Linked DNA regions of Homo sapiens: region 1 is linked to region 2. Evidence: promoter capture Hi-C in 16 types of primary human blood cells and fetal thymus (Javierre and others, 2016). All regions are on one chromosome and are shown on one strand. The core of a region is centred on a gene start or on the middle of the fragment in contact, and the rest is flanking DNA. Distances in the headings are between cores, read along the strand shown. Region 1 overlaps SRSF4 (serine and arginine rich splicing factor 4). Region 2 holds the start of TAF12 (TATA-box binding protein associated factor 12).

Region 1 (6,990 bases), core at 3,901-6,400, 530 kb before region 2:
GGCGTGGTGGCTCACACCTGTAATCCCAGCACTTTGGGAGGCCGAGGCGGGCGGATCACGAGGTCAGGAGATCGAGACCATCCTGGCTAACATGGTGAAACCCTATCTCTACTAAAAAAAAAATACAAAAAAAATTAGCCGGGCCTGTTGGCCTGCGCCTGTAGTCCCAGCTACTTGGGAGGTTGAAGTAGGAGAATGGCGTGAACCCGGGAGGCTGAGCTTGCAGTGAGCCGAGATCGCACCACTGCACTCCAGCCTGGATGACAGAGCAAGACTCTGTCTCAAAAAAAAAAAAAAAAAAAAAAAAAGCCTTTTTGACTCATTAGAGAATAAATGTAGGTTAATTGTAGATCATTTAGATATTATGAAAGCATAAAGTGAAAAGTATCATTAAGCATCCTTTTAAGATGGGTGAGGTTTTACGTGCAATTTTGTGTCACGCTTTTTTTACTTAATTTATCTCATGTATTTTCTATTACATTAAAATCTTCCTTATTAATGGCTTCATAAAATCCATTGTATGGCAATATTATGACTTACCCAACCATTCCTCTTATATTGTCTACCTTTTTTTTGGTCTCCTAATTCTTGCTGTTATAAGTAACCCTGTGATGGGTATTATGTGCATAAAACTTTGTTTGCATTTTTATTATCCCTGAGTACATATGGATTCCATGAAATAAAATTCATGTGTCACAGCAGGAGTGAACATATTCAAGTATCTCAGTGCATATAACCAAATAACTTTCCAGAAAAGCTACACCAGTTACACTTAACACCCGCAGTGTATGAGCATGCCCGTGTGATGGGCACTTCAACAGCATGGAGTACCCCTGTTGTGTTTGCTGGCCAGGCGTGGTGGCTCACGTCTGTAATTCCAGCACTTTAGGAGGCCAAGGCGGGCGGATCACCTGAGGTCAGAAGTTCGAGACCAGCCTGACCAACATGATGAGACCCTGTCTCTACTGAAATTACAAAAATTAGCTGGGCATGGTGGTAGGCTCCTGCAATCCTAGCTACTCGGGAGGCTGAGGCAGGAGAACCGCTTGAACCCGGGAGGCGGAAGTTGCAGTGTGAGATCACACCATTCCACTCCAGCTTGGGTGACAGAGTGAGACTCTGTCTCAAAAATAAAAAATAAAAATAAAAGATGCTAATTTACCAAGTGAAAAATAATCAGGAAGTTTTTCTTGAATGAATAATAAATAGAGATAGGACTATGAATTAAGTAGCATTCTGTCATTGTTTTATTAGTAATATAACTATTACAAATGTGATCAAATTTTTTTTTATTAAAAGTCACTTTTTAAAGTCAACTTACCCCCCAAAAAAGTGTATTATTTTTTTCCCCCAATATATGGGGAATTTAATTTTTTTCTGTCATTTTGAAAAATCAATGCCAAGAGATAATACCATATTGAGATTTTTGACCAAATGTTAACAGCGTAAATTGCCCTGGTTCAAGACCTCCACTCCTTGGTTCTTGGTCCCTTCAGTTTGTGGTATGAATAAACATCATTTGTAATTATTTGACTAAGTCATTTAAAATCCCTGTTCTTCAGTTTAATATACTGTTTTGCTCCTCCTTTCTCATTGAGGTACTGTATGAATTTAAGGGCCATACGAAGTATTTGTCCCTTCTTAAAAGATAGGCACAGGATATAGACTCGGTAATAAAATGTGGTTTGGGTTTCTAGTATTTTTTTATGCTTCCAGGTACCCAGAACCGCAAATTTTACTTTGAGCTCCTCAGAAGAAAGGTGCTCCAGGCATCTGAGAGAATACCGTTGGGGTGATACTTACAAATTTGTAAGCTAACACTGAAATCTTAAAACTTCCGAAAATATTAATGCATTTGTATGACTTATTTTTCAACTGAGTATGTCAAAGTACTTTATGAACAAGTGTTGTCCCTAGTTTGTACTGATGGGGAAACTGAGGCATGGGGTGATAAGGTGACTGGCCCAAGGTTACAAAATGAGTTATTGACAACTCCGGAAATAGAAGATTTTTTAAATTCCCATACTAGATACATGTGGGCATTGACATTCAAAGCTTCCCTCATGCTATTTCCTTTAGTCCTGTCCTTTGGGGATTGCCTCTGAGGGTGAGAGGGTAGTTCAGGTTTCCGGGCTTGTTCAGCCTTTAGTCTCTGTAGAGGCTTCCAGCAAGCTGACAAGTTACTGCCAAAAGTGAGACAGATGGTATTTTTTATGATGTTGTCCTTAGTTGGAGACTGCTAGTGATTCTCCTCCTCAGGCTACTCTTTGAAAAGCTGTAAGGTGGTATCAGCTTTATCGTGGTTGGCTGAGGAAGGATTTGTACAAGTAAATGTTCTCTGCCTTATTGTCATTCCTAGGGCCGTCTGGTCTTATAGTACCCTGAAGGTGAGGGATTAGATTATGCTCTGAATTTGTATGCCCATAGTTTGAGGAAATGTTTTACTTGAGTTTTCTGTGTGTTGAGATGAAAGTCTCCCAGGCTAAAGATTTCTGAACTGCACGCAATGTCTGAAGAAGCGCTTGAAAGGCACTTTATTTCTCCCAGGTCCCCAACCATGGGTTTAGGTTTTTATGCCAGAAAGGGGACCTTCATGAACAAAGACCCCCAAGACCTAGAGAGAAGAGGAAGTCTGAAAGAGGGAGGTTTGAATTCAGCCTTCAGGAATGAAGAGGGCAGACAGAGCAGGAGGCTCAGGCAAGGGAGTCAGGAACCACAGACCAGAAACATGGACTTGGAAAGGTTTTCATGTAATTGAAATGAAGCTATTGATCCATCCATTTTAAAAGAATTTGAAAAATTCATTAAAATACTTAATTAGTGGCATCCACTAATTAATAAAAGCATAGGGAGTGGCATCTTTAACCAAAAATGAAAATGAAGAAACAGACTCCAGCCCAGGGACCAGGGGCGATTATGAGGGACATGGTGCCTCATACAGCCAAGATGATCCAAGAGGCATCATCTTTAATGAAGCTTTAACACCTGGCAGCCTGCTCATTGTGTTGTTTAAGAGGTAAGTATGAACTGGTTTTGTTTGTAGCTTTTGTGTGGAATCAGGTAGTGCTGTCTGCAGAGTGTAAACCTTTATTTCTTTAAGTAGGAATAACAGATAAAGTAATTCTATATTAAATCCCAAGAGTTTTATTCTAAATTGGTAATGTGACTTTCATCTCTCGAGTTTTTTCAAATCGTTTTTAATTTGTGGTTGAGTCTTCACGAACTTCTTGTCATCAGGCAATAGTTGATTCCCCTTTTTTGAAAGCTTTCAATTTCATTTATCCTTAGTGTTGAAAAGTGTCAGAAAATTGAAATGGACACAGATGATTGTATCTGCCCTCCCTTTCAGGAAAGCCATGTTGACTTTAAAATATCAAAAAAGAAAGTTCAGTTATGATTGCAGGGGGTAATGATAGTTTGATCCACAAACTATTTGCAGTGTAAAAGTGAAATACCTTAGCTGACTTAGTTCATTTTTGAAAGTTTTGAATAGCTAAAACAAAGTTGGCAAATAGGCTCATAGAGTAGTTACAGAGTAAGACTAAATTCATATTTGATGCAGATTCCTCTCTACCTCCCATTCTGGGAGGATTTAGTTTTACTGTTTGGTGTTTAGGATAATGATTGTTCTGTTTTTCTCACCCTACTATGTGAATATATATTCTGTTAGAGATGGGCTGTTATCTGCAATGTGGACTCAATACCATGGGCTTGAGTTTGGTTAGTTCATCATTAGAGATTTTTTTTCAGCAGTTGGTTTACTTTATGAGAAAGGATCATGAGTTTAATTTTCCCACTGATATATTTGTGTTCTCATTGCTGAGATATAAGTTTCTTAATGATTTGTTACCTTTTTCTATTTTCCTAGACTAGTATTAAAATTTTGATGGCATATGGGTTTGGTTCCACTTGTAGAGAATAAATGTTCACAACTTACTGGTATTAGCACACACACATCACATGCAGAAATGGTGTTTTCTTGCCACTTACTCTTTCTCATAAGATGCTTATATTCCTGTGGGCATTTGTCTTCCACACTACAGCACATAATTTGATGAAACTGATTTTCTGTGCAAGAGCTTGTGTTTCTCCAACTCTGGTTTTATGGACCACTTTTCATTGGTATATAGGAGGCGGTTAAAACGTGGTGGTAGAATGCAGGTTTTAGGTTAGCTGGGTGTGAAGAATCCCAGGTCTTTGGGATAGTCTTGGCAAGTTACTCAACTCCTCTAAGTTAGTTTCTTGATCTGTCAGATGACAGTAAACCTCAGAGTTGTGAAAATTAAATGGATATAATGTGTGTAAAGCACTTAGCATAATGCTTTATACATCGTAAAACTTTCAAAAATAGGAGTAGTAATTATTACAAAGAAATGTGAAGAAGAGTCCTAGTGGGCTGCATGTTAAAAATAGTTTTTAGTTAATGAAAATTAAATCACATCTTAGATGTTTATCATCTGCATGGTACTTTTCTGGTTGCTGCTTTAACCTTTGTATAGTTGAAAGTCTGTAAACTTTCTAGTATTCTTTGATTTCTGGCCCATTTCCCTCCTACCATTCACGCTTATATTTTTTGGTTCAAGTCACCATTCCTTGCAAAACTAATTAAATACATTCCTAAATACATAATATTGCCAATATTCATTCACATCCACCACGTCTAGATCCAAGTCTTCATCTTCTTTATGCTGGTCTAATTTTTGCTGAGCCTTAGAAGCAAAGACAGACTCCGGGGGTTGATATGGGACCTCCAGAATGGGGATTGCACAGAATAATCTTATTTTTCCTCTATTCTTCTAGTCTGTTATGTTCTGAACCCACACATGTTTTCGGAAGGACCAGATGGCTGACACTGGCTAATGGGAACCAAAAGACGAGTGAAAGTAACCTGGTTGTCACATACCCCCAGCTTAGAGGTGCTTCACCCTGCCCCAAGGTCAATTTCTTTTTTCTCTAGAGACTTTACCCCATTATATCAAAAACCTTTACTACAGCCTGACTTTATCTGATGTTAGAGTATCATTAAGTCAAGCAGCAGCATTTATTGAGTGAAAAAAGATTGTACACAGGACTGGAAGAGAAGCATCTGCCTTTAAAATACAGTAGAAGGCCGGGCATGGTGGCTCATGCCTGTAATTCTAGCACTTTGGGAGGCCAAGGCAGGTGGATTGCCTGAGCTCAGGAGTTCGAGACCACCCTGGGCAACATGGTGAAACCCTGTCTCTCCTAAAAAAAAAAAAAAAAAAATTACAAAAAATTTGCCGGGCATGGTGGTGCACACCTGTAGTCCCAGCCACTCTAAAGGCTGAGGTACAAGAATTGCTTGAGCCCAGGGTCAGAGGTTGCAGTGAGTGGAGATCGCGCCGCTGCGCTGCAGCCTGCGCGACAGAGCGAGACTATGTTTTTTTTAAAAAAAAAAAAAAAAAGGAATTAGAACCTTGTGGTTTAGAGCTGGGATTTTTAGAGTCATGGGTCTGGGTTCAAATCTAGCTCCTTCACTCATGAGCTCCTTGAAAATGAGCAAGTTGCTTACTCCAAGCCTCAGTTTCTCATTGTAAAATGAGAAGAATAATAATACATTCTTCACATTTGATATACAAATGGATGAAATATTATGGATAAATTATTTACTGTGCCAGGCACTGTGCTAAATAGCCAACAGATATTAGCCTTCGTTTTTCTTAGTGAAGAGCTCATAATCAAAAGAGAAGGTAAGCACAAAGACAAAAACAAGACTTAAAAAGCTACAGAAACATGACTGGGCACAGTGGCTCACGCCTGTAATCCCAGCACTTTGGGAGGCTGAGGCGGCCATATCACAAGGTCAGGAGTTTGAGACAAGCCTGACCAACATGGTGAAACCCCGTCTCCACTAAAAATATAAAAATTAGCTGGGCGTGGTGGCGTGTGCCTGTAATTCCAGCTATTCAAGAGGCTGAGGCAGGAGAACTGCTTGAACCTGGGAGGTGGAGGCTGCAGTGAGCCAAGATTGTGCCTTTGCACTCCAGCCTGGGCAACAGAGCGAGACTCCATCTCAAAAAAACAAAAACAAAAAGCGTAAAATTGAATAGAAGTGCTAAAGCTAAAGAAAGTCCTAAAATAATTGGAATAGGCAAGTTTCTGAGGCTTCATGAAAGAGGTAATTCTCAAGCATATGGAAGAAGATTGATATAATTCAACTTGTGTAGTCAAGGTGTTCCAGGTTTAGAGAGTGACATAAAGATACTTAGGAGTCGTTATAGACTTCTAAACAAAAAAATGATTTAGTAGCTGACTTTTCCTGACACAATGCAAAAGACAAGTTGACTAAGTAAAAATAGCTCTAGCCTAGAATTACATAAATTAATCCAAATGGTAGAGACAGCCCTGAAGGCCCAGCAAATGAGAAAACTGCAGAACTTGGCAGTAGACCCAGTGGGTAACCAATAAGATATAGTCAGAAGTGATTACAAAGGTGTTGGGAGCAAATTAGATGGTCAAGGGATCCGGAAGAGAGAAATCATGAGGTAGGTTTTCTTCTTTGAAGGTGGGGAAAGATCAAGTGCAGACTGAGCTGTGGCCAACGTTTGCAGACCAGGAATCCACACTAGCTCTAATCAGAGAGCCCTTGGTGTGCGGGAACTGCCAGTTTGCCGACGTGAAAAGAGTCCCAGACTGGGTAATGGTGAGCCCTGAAGTCGCACCCCAGCTCTGCCACTCAGTGAGCACGGGTAAGTCATCCACCTCCTCCAGGTGGCCTTGATGGCCCTCCCTCCTCTGAGACTAAAGAGAGGCCACAATGCCCAGAGCAGCCTCCTTCCTGTCTCAAGAAAGGAAAGGATCTCAGGAACCCATTTCATGTGGTAGCAGCTTTTAGTTGTGGGTTGTAAACAACCCTCTGTTGCCAGGAAAGTCAAATTGCAACCATAATCACTGATCCTGAGCAGTAAATGTGACATTGGTTAATTCTTCTGTGAGGGCCTGAACGCTGGTTCCCTGGAATGTTGCAGA
Region 2 (6,529 bases), core at 1,753-4,252:
ACTCCTGGGCTCAAGCAGTCCTCCTGCTGCGCCTCCCAAAGTGTTGGGATTACAGGTGTAAAGCCACCACATCTGACCTTATCTCTCTTTTTTTTTTTTTTCCCAGACAGTCTCACTCTGTTGCCCAGGTTGGAGTGCAGTGGCACGATCTCGGCTCGCTTCAACCTCTACCACCCAGGTTTAAGCGATTCTCATGCCTCAGCCTCCTGAGTAGCTTGGGACTACAGGCACGCGCCACTACACCCGGCTAATTTTTAAAATATTTTTAGTAGGTTTCACCCTGTTGGCCAGGCTGGTCTCAAACTCCTAACCTCAAGTGATCCACCTGCCTCGGCCTCCCAAAATGCTGGGATTACAGGCGTGAGCCACAGTGCCTGGCCTGGCCTTATCTGTTTTTTTGTTGTTGTTGTAGTTTTGTTTGAGATGGAGTCTTGCTCCCGTCACGCAGGCTGGAGTGCACTGGCTCAATCTCCGCTCACTGCAACCTCCACCTCCCGGGTTCCAGCGATTCTCCTTCCGCAGCCTCCTGAGTAGCTGGGGTCACAGGCGTGCACCACCACGCCCAGCTAATTTTTGTATTTTTAGTAGAGATAGGGTTTCACTATTTTGGCCAGGATGATCTCTATCTCCTGACCTCGTGATCCTCCTGCCTCAGCCTCCCAAAGTGCTGGGATTACAGGCGTGAGCCAGGGTGTCCAGTCCTTATCTCTTAAAGAAAAAAAAAAAAAAGAAGAGGCCGGGCGCAGTGGCTCCTGCCTGTAATCCCAGCATTTTGGGAGGCCAAGGCAGGCGGATCACGAGGTCAGGAGATCGAGACCATCCTGGCTAACATGGTGAAACCCCATCTCTACTAAAAATACAAAAAATTAGCCGGGCGCGGTGGCGGGCGCCTGTAGTCCCAGCTACTTGGGAGGCTGAGGCAGGAGAATGGCATGAACCTGGGAGGCGGAACTTGCAGTGAGCCGAGATAGCTCCACTGCAGTCCGGCCTGGGTGAAACAGCGAGACTCCGTCTCAAAAAAAAAAAAAAGAAAATTCATCTACTTGGGAAGCTGAGGTGGAGGAGGATCGCTTGAACACAGGAGTTTGAGGCTGTAGTGAACTATGATTGTGCCACTGCACTCTAGCCCTGGTGACAGAGTGAGACCCTGTATCATTTAACAATCGCCATAATTTCACCGTTCTTCCAACACCTTCCCATTGCATACTGAATATAATCTCAAGTCCCCATCATAGTCTAGGCTAAAAGGTCCAGACTATAACAAACCCCTGCCTACCTCTCCAAACTCATTGTCTTTCCCGGTTACCAAAGCTCCAGCCACCTTGGCCATCTTGGTCCTTGAGTAAGTGTTTTCCTTACTGAAGACCATGGCTCAGGCCATCAGCCAGCTAGATAAGTCTGGCTTATTCCAGTATTCTCTTCTATCACCCTTTTGTGCAGTTGCTAATGGTCTGTTTCCCACTCTAGGTTGCAAACTTTCTAAGGACAGAGATCATCCGTCTTAGCCACCAGTTATGTACTCAGCACATAGCAAAAGGCTTGTCACACAATGAGACTCAAACACTTGTCAAATGAACGTATATACATTCAACCTGGGTCTTAAAAAAGATGTATAGGCATTCAACAACAAAAAGTGGTATGCCGGACCCTAAAAAGAATGGAGAGCAGTGGCAAGGAAATAAGGCTAGGAATACAGCTTAGAGCCCAATGTTCATGAGGACTTGAATCTGAGAATTTGGATTGGGTGGCAGTGTAGAGGGTGGACTGGGAACGTGGTAGGATGAGGATTAGGAAGATATAAAGACAGGGCAGGATGCCGCACCAATCTGGGCACCTCTTCCTAATTTCTATGTGGCTCACTCTGGCCTGTCACAGCTCTTTATACAATTTTTGGTGTGTTTGTGGGTTCTTCTCCATCTTACTGTGAACCTTACAGATGCTGGAATTGGGTCTTACTTGCATGCCTAACATTCCAGCATACAGTAAAAAATAACAGCTGTTCTCTTTTTTTTTTTTTTGAGACAGAGTCTCGCTCTGTCGCCCAGGCTGGAGTGCAGTGGCGCGATCTCGGCTCACTGCAACCTCCGCCCCTCCAGGTTTAAGCAGTTCTCTGCGTCAGCCTCCGGAGTAGCTGCGATTACAGGCGCATGCCACCACGCCCGGCTAATTTTTTGTATTTTTAGTAGAGACGGGGTTTCACCATCTTGGCCAGACTGGTCTTGAACTCTTGACCTCGTGATCCACCCTCCTCGGCCTCCCAAAGTGCTGGGATTACAGGCGTGAGCCACATAACAGCAGTTCTCACCAAGCATCTGACAGCCGAAAAACTGAAAGCATTAGAGAATGCTACAGGACAGGCTTTGGCTTAGTAGTGAGTTCTGAGTTCAAGCTGAGGCTCTGCACTTATTAGCTAGAACTTTGCTTAATCTCTCACAGGTCTCCTCTAAATGATTAAATGGCGTAACGGAGGTAAGCGGATTAGCACAATTCCCGGCAAACAGTAAGCACTCAATTGTTACTACTGAATTGCCAGTTCACAGGCACAACCAACCGATCTCTCTCATCTCCTGGTTCCTCTGTTGCCAACTTCCTCGTTGAGGTCCAACAGGATACCTGTGGGGTAATGTGTCCCAGATGATATCCCAGTCCTGACACCAAGACAAAGGCACCAACCAAAAATGGCGACCTCAAAGCCATCCGAGGGCGTCAATTACCCGTCATGCTACCGATAGATAAATAAGCAGCGTCGGGAAGAAAAGCTAGTGAAGGATTCTTAACGCCGGGTTGGAATACGCAGAGCTCGCTCATGCTGCCACTCAACCACAAGCAGTTAAAAGCGCAAGCTGCAGGGTGTACCTACACACAGCTCAATATCGCCACCACGTGTCGGAGGGCAGTCTGCGCCTGCGCAAGCGAGGCGCGCGCCCGCCGGCCGGAAGAGCCGCGCGTTTCCGGGTTGGAGGCGGGGAGCGGTGCCGGAAGTAGTCGGGGAGGGCCGCGCAGTCGGACCGGCTGCTGAGACGAACGCTTCACTGGGGCAGTCTCTGCATATCATGGGGAGATAGACGCTGCTGCCTGTGAGTCTTGGGCCCTGGCAGTTGAGGAACAAGAGCGGGAGGAGGGAGTCAGGACCCAGACCTACAGTGGGTCAGTGTTCGAAGGACCAGGTTGTGGACGAGACGGGGCTGTGAGGATTCAGGCTCTTGGGAAGGGACTGACTGAGAGGATCAGGCTCGGAGAAGACGCGGCTGTGGGGACCCGGGCTCTAAGACGGGACTTAGGGAACGGGGACGGATGCGAGTTCTCCGGCATCTGAGGGAAAGTGGTCTGAGAGGAGCAGGATTATGAGGACCCGCACTCCTACGAGGAAAGGGTCAGAAAGGAACGGGGCGTGAAGACACAGGCTCCGGAGAGGTAAAAGTGGAGCGGTGAGGACTTGGGCTCCTAAGAGGCAGAAGCGGGACAGTGAAGACCCGGGCTCCTAAGGATTCAGAAACGGGGCAGCGAAGACTTAGGTTCCTGAGGGGCAGAAGCAGACAGAGAAAACTTGAGTTTGGAAGGGAACAGAAGCGGGCAGTGAAGACTGGGGCTTCTTTGGGGACGGGATCCGGGCTTTGAGACTCCGAGTTCCTGAGTCTCGGAACAGGGCTGTGAGTACCCAAGCTCCTAAAAGCCTTGGATCTAAGGGACCATGGATATGAGATCAGCCTACAAAGTAAAGGGAAAGGGTTTGGAAAAGATTTAGTGATCCATTTTTTCACAGTATTCCCTGAACCCAGAGAGATAAAGGACGTATTCAGGGGAAGACAACTTCTCCTTCGCACTGCCTACTTGGCTCTTGGCAAGCTTTTCTTGTGTCAGATACTCAATCTAGGAAGCCCATATGCAAACATCTTCATTTTCTGCTTCATTCTTGGGAATCAGATGTGAAGTTGAAAACAGTTGGAACTCAGTTATGTACTTGATAAGTGCTTTAAATCCCATTCCACTCAACCCTGAATGAGCACAGATCTCTGCATCTCAAATAAAAGAATGTCAGTGATGGAAGAGTCCCAAAAGATCATCTTTTAAAAACTCCTATTTTACATTTAAGAAGGCTAAGGTTCAAAGAGGCTTAGGATTACAGTGAGGCAATGGTTAGTTAGATCATAATTTTAATACAGTACCCTTCTGTGCGTAGCAAATGAGATGCTTGGTTAATGTTCCTTAAATGCTTCTAGAATCTTTGCTTTATCTTCAAACTCAGGAGGGAATTTTTTTTTTTTTTTTTTTTTTGAGACAGGTTCTCTCTCTGTCGCCCAGTCTGAAGTGCAGCGGCTCAGTCTTGGCCCCGTGCACCTCCAACCTCCTAGGCTCAAGCAGTCTTCCCACCTATACCTCCTGAGTAGCTGGAACTACGGGCGTGTGCCACCACGCCCTGCTAATTTTTAAATTTTTTGTAGAAACAGGGTCTCACTATATTGCCCAGGCTGGTCTCAAACTCCTAAGCTCAAGTGATCCTCCCACCTTGGCCTCCCAAAGTGCTGGGATTACAGGCATGAGTCACCTCACCCCCCTTGCAGTTTTTGTTTTTGTTTTGTTTTGTTTTGTTTTTTTGAGACAGAGTCACCCAGGCTGGAGTGCAGTGGCACGATCTCGGCTCACTGCAATCTCTGCTTCCCCAGTTCAAACGATTCTCCTGCCTCAGCCTCTCAAGTAGCTGGAATTACAGGTGTGTGCCACAATGCCCGGCTACTTTTTGTATTTTTAGTAGAGACAGGTTTTTGCCATGTTGGCCAGGCTGTGTTTCGAACTCCTGATCTCAAGTGATCCGCCCGCCTCAGCCTCCCGAAGTGCTGGGATTATAGAAATGAGCCACTGCGCCCGGCCCAGTTTTTATTTCCAGTAAAAACTGGAAATTTTTACAGTTTCTGATAATTTGAGTGTTGTTACTGTATTGACATTAATACAGTAAATGTCACTTAATAGTAAGGAAACCTTTATTTTTATTTTTGTGTTTTTGAGACAGGGTCCTGTTCTGTTGCCCATATTGGAGTGCAGTGGCATAATCATAGTTCACTGCAACCTATATTCTTGGGCTCAAGCACTCCTCCTGCCTCAGCCTCCTGGGACTGCAGGTATGAGCCACTACACCCAGCTAATTTTTAAGTTTTTTTGTAGAGACAGTGTTTGGCTGTGTTGCCTAGGCTGCTGTTGAATTCTTGGCCTCAAATGATTCTCCCGCCTTGGCCTCCCAAAATGTTCTTATAGGCATGAGCCACTGCACCTGGCTGGAACCTTTAAATAAAGCTCAGTGTTATTTATTTATTTAATAAGCTGTTTGGAAAGTCATAAATAAGTGTGTCCTGTATTTTTAGTGCAAACATTTACTAGGGATGGCTGCTTTTGGATAAGGATGGTGGGGAGACTTGCACCAGTCACTTCCTTCAATATTAATATCTTTTTCTGAAACCTACTCAGACTAACGAGGCACAGCTTATGCACTATCGAGTATTCTATGATTTAATTATCACAGCCCCACAAGTTAGATATTGTCAGTCCCGTTGTACAGATAATGAAATAGGTTTAGAGAGGTTACTTTGCCTGAAATCACACAGTGACCCAACCCCAGTTACATGTGCCTCTAAAACTTTTTTCTACTCTTCTAAGTGGATTCCTCTCAGTTTGTCCATCAGCAAAATAGAAGTAATCGTTATACAAAACATATAATTGAATGAAAGCATCTCCTCCTTCTTAAGGCTCCTCTAAATGTCAAGGACTATAACATATTAGGGTACTTATGTATTGTGGCATTTGAGAACTAAATTCTGTTTTCACAGAAGCATAGATTATTCAAGATAGAAAAACGGGAACTTTGTAGAGCTTTTCCTTGCAATGTAGAAAGACATTTAATTTTAGATTTAGGAGGCCAAGAAAGACTAATTTGGACTGGGCATGATGGCTCACACCTGTAATCCCAGCACTTTGGGAGGCCAAGGCGGGCGGGTCACCTGAGATCAGGAGTTCGAGACCCGCCTGGCCAACATGGCAAAACCCCGTCTCTACTAAACATACAAAAATTAGCTGGGCATGGTGGCACATGCCTGTAGTCCCAGCTACTCTGGAGGCTGAGGTGGGAGAGAATCACTTGAATCCTGGAGGTGGAGGTTCAATGAGCCGAGATTGTGTCACTGTACTCCAGCCTGGACAACAGAATGAGACTCTGTCTGAAAAAAAAAAAAAGTAATTTGAAAAACAAGGGCTTAAATTTGATTGATTTTCCAGTTAATTATATCATGAACTAGATGTTTGGGGGAATTGGGCTTAGTTAAAACTACTATTTTTTCCCCAGGGTTAGCCTGTACTATTTGCAAGCGCCTATTATATATAAATGATCAAAACTAACTTATACCAACTTATAAGGGAAAGCATACCGATGCCCATGTCACCACTTCAAAGTACTTGATGGTTTAATTAATGATAATTTATTCCTGAGTTAACATCCTTACCTATACTTGCAAAATGTACTTCATTTCATTTGTGGCTCTAG

Evidence for each region. Contacts are between HindIII fragments. The CHiCAGO score rates a contact against its expected background, and 5 or more counts as called.
Region 1: a contact is called between a fragment that was not itself captured here and the fragment with the promoter of TAF12 in region 2, in 1 of 17 cell types (neutrophils). The highest score is 6.0, in neutrophils.

Annotation. Positions count from the first base shown.
Region 1 is chr1:29,166,449-29,173,438 of GRCh38, reverse strand. The region is part of intron 1 of SRSF4 (serine and arginine rich splicing factor 4); the gene reads left to right. It also overlaps a transcript of MECR not described here. Among named protein-coding and RNA genes, the nearest start is that of SRSF4, 12 kb to the left of the region's middle. The HindIII fragment of the contact is 3,765 bases long and covers 3,268-6,990 here.
Region 2 is chr1:28,639,540-28,646,068 of GRCh38, reverse strand. It overlaps TAF12 (TATA-box binding protein associated factor 12), which reads left to right and starts at 3,002. Exons shown (of 6, transcript NM_005644.4): 1 at 3,002-3,077. TAF12-DT (TAF12 divergent transcript) reads right to left here and starts at 2,813. Exons shown (of 2, transcript NR_146730.1): 1 at 2,306-2,813. RefSeq lists an enhancer at 451-950 and a silencer at 1,158-1,452. The HindIII fragment of the contact is 14,626 bases long and covers 1-3,848 here.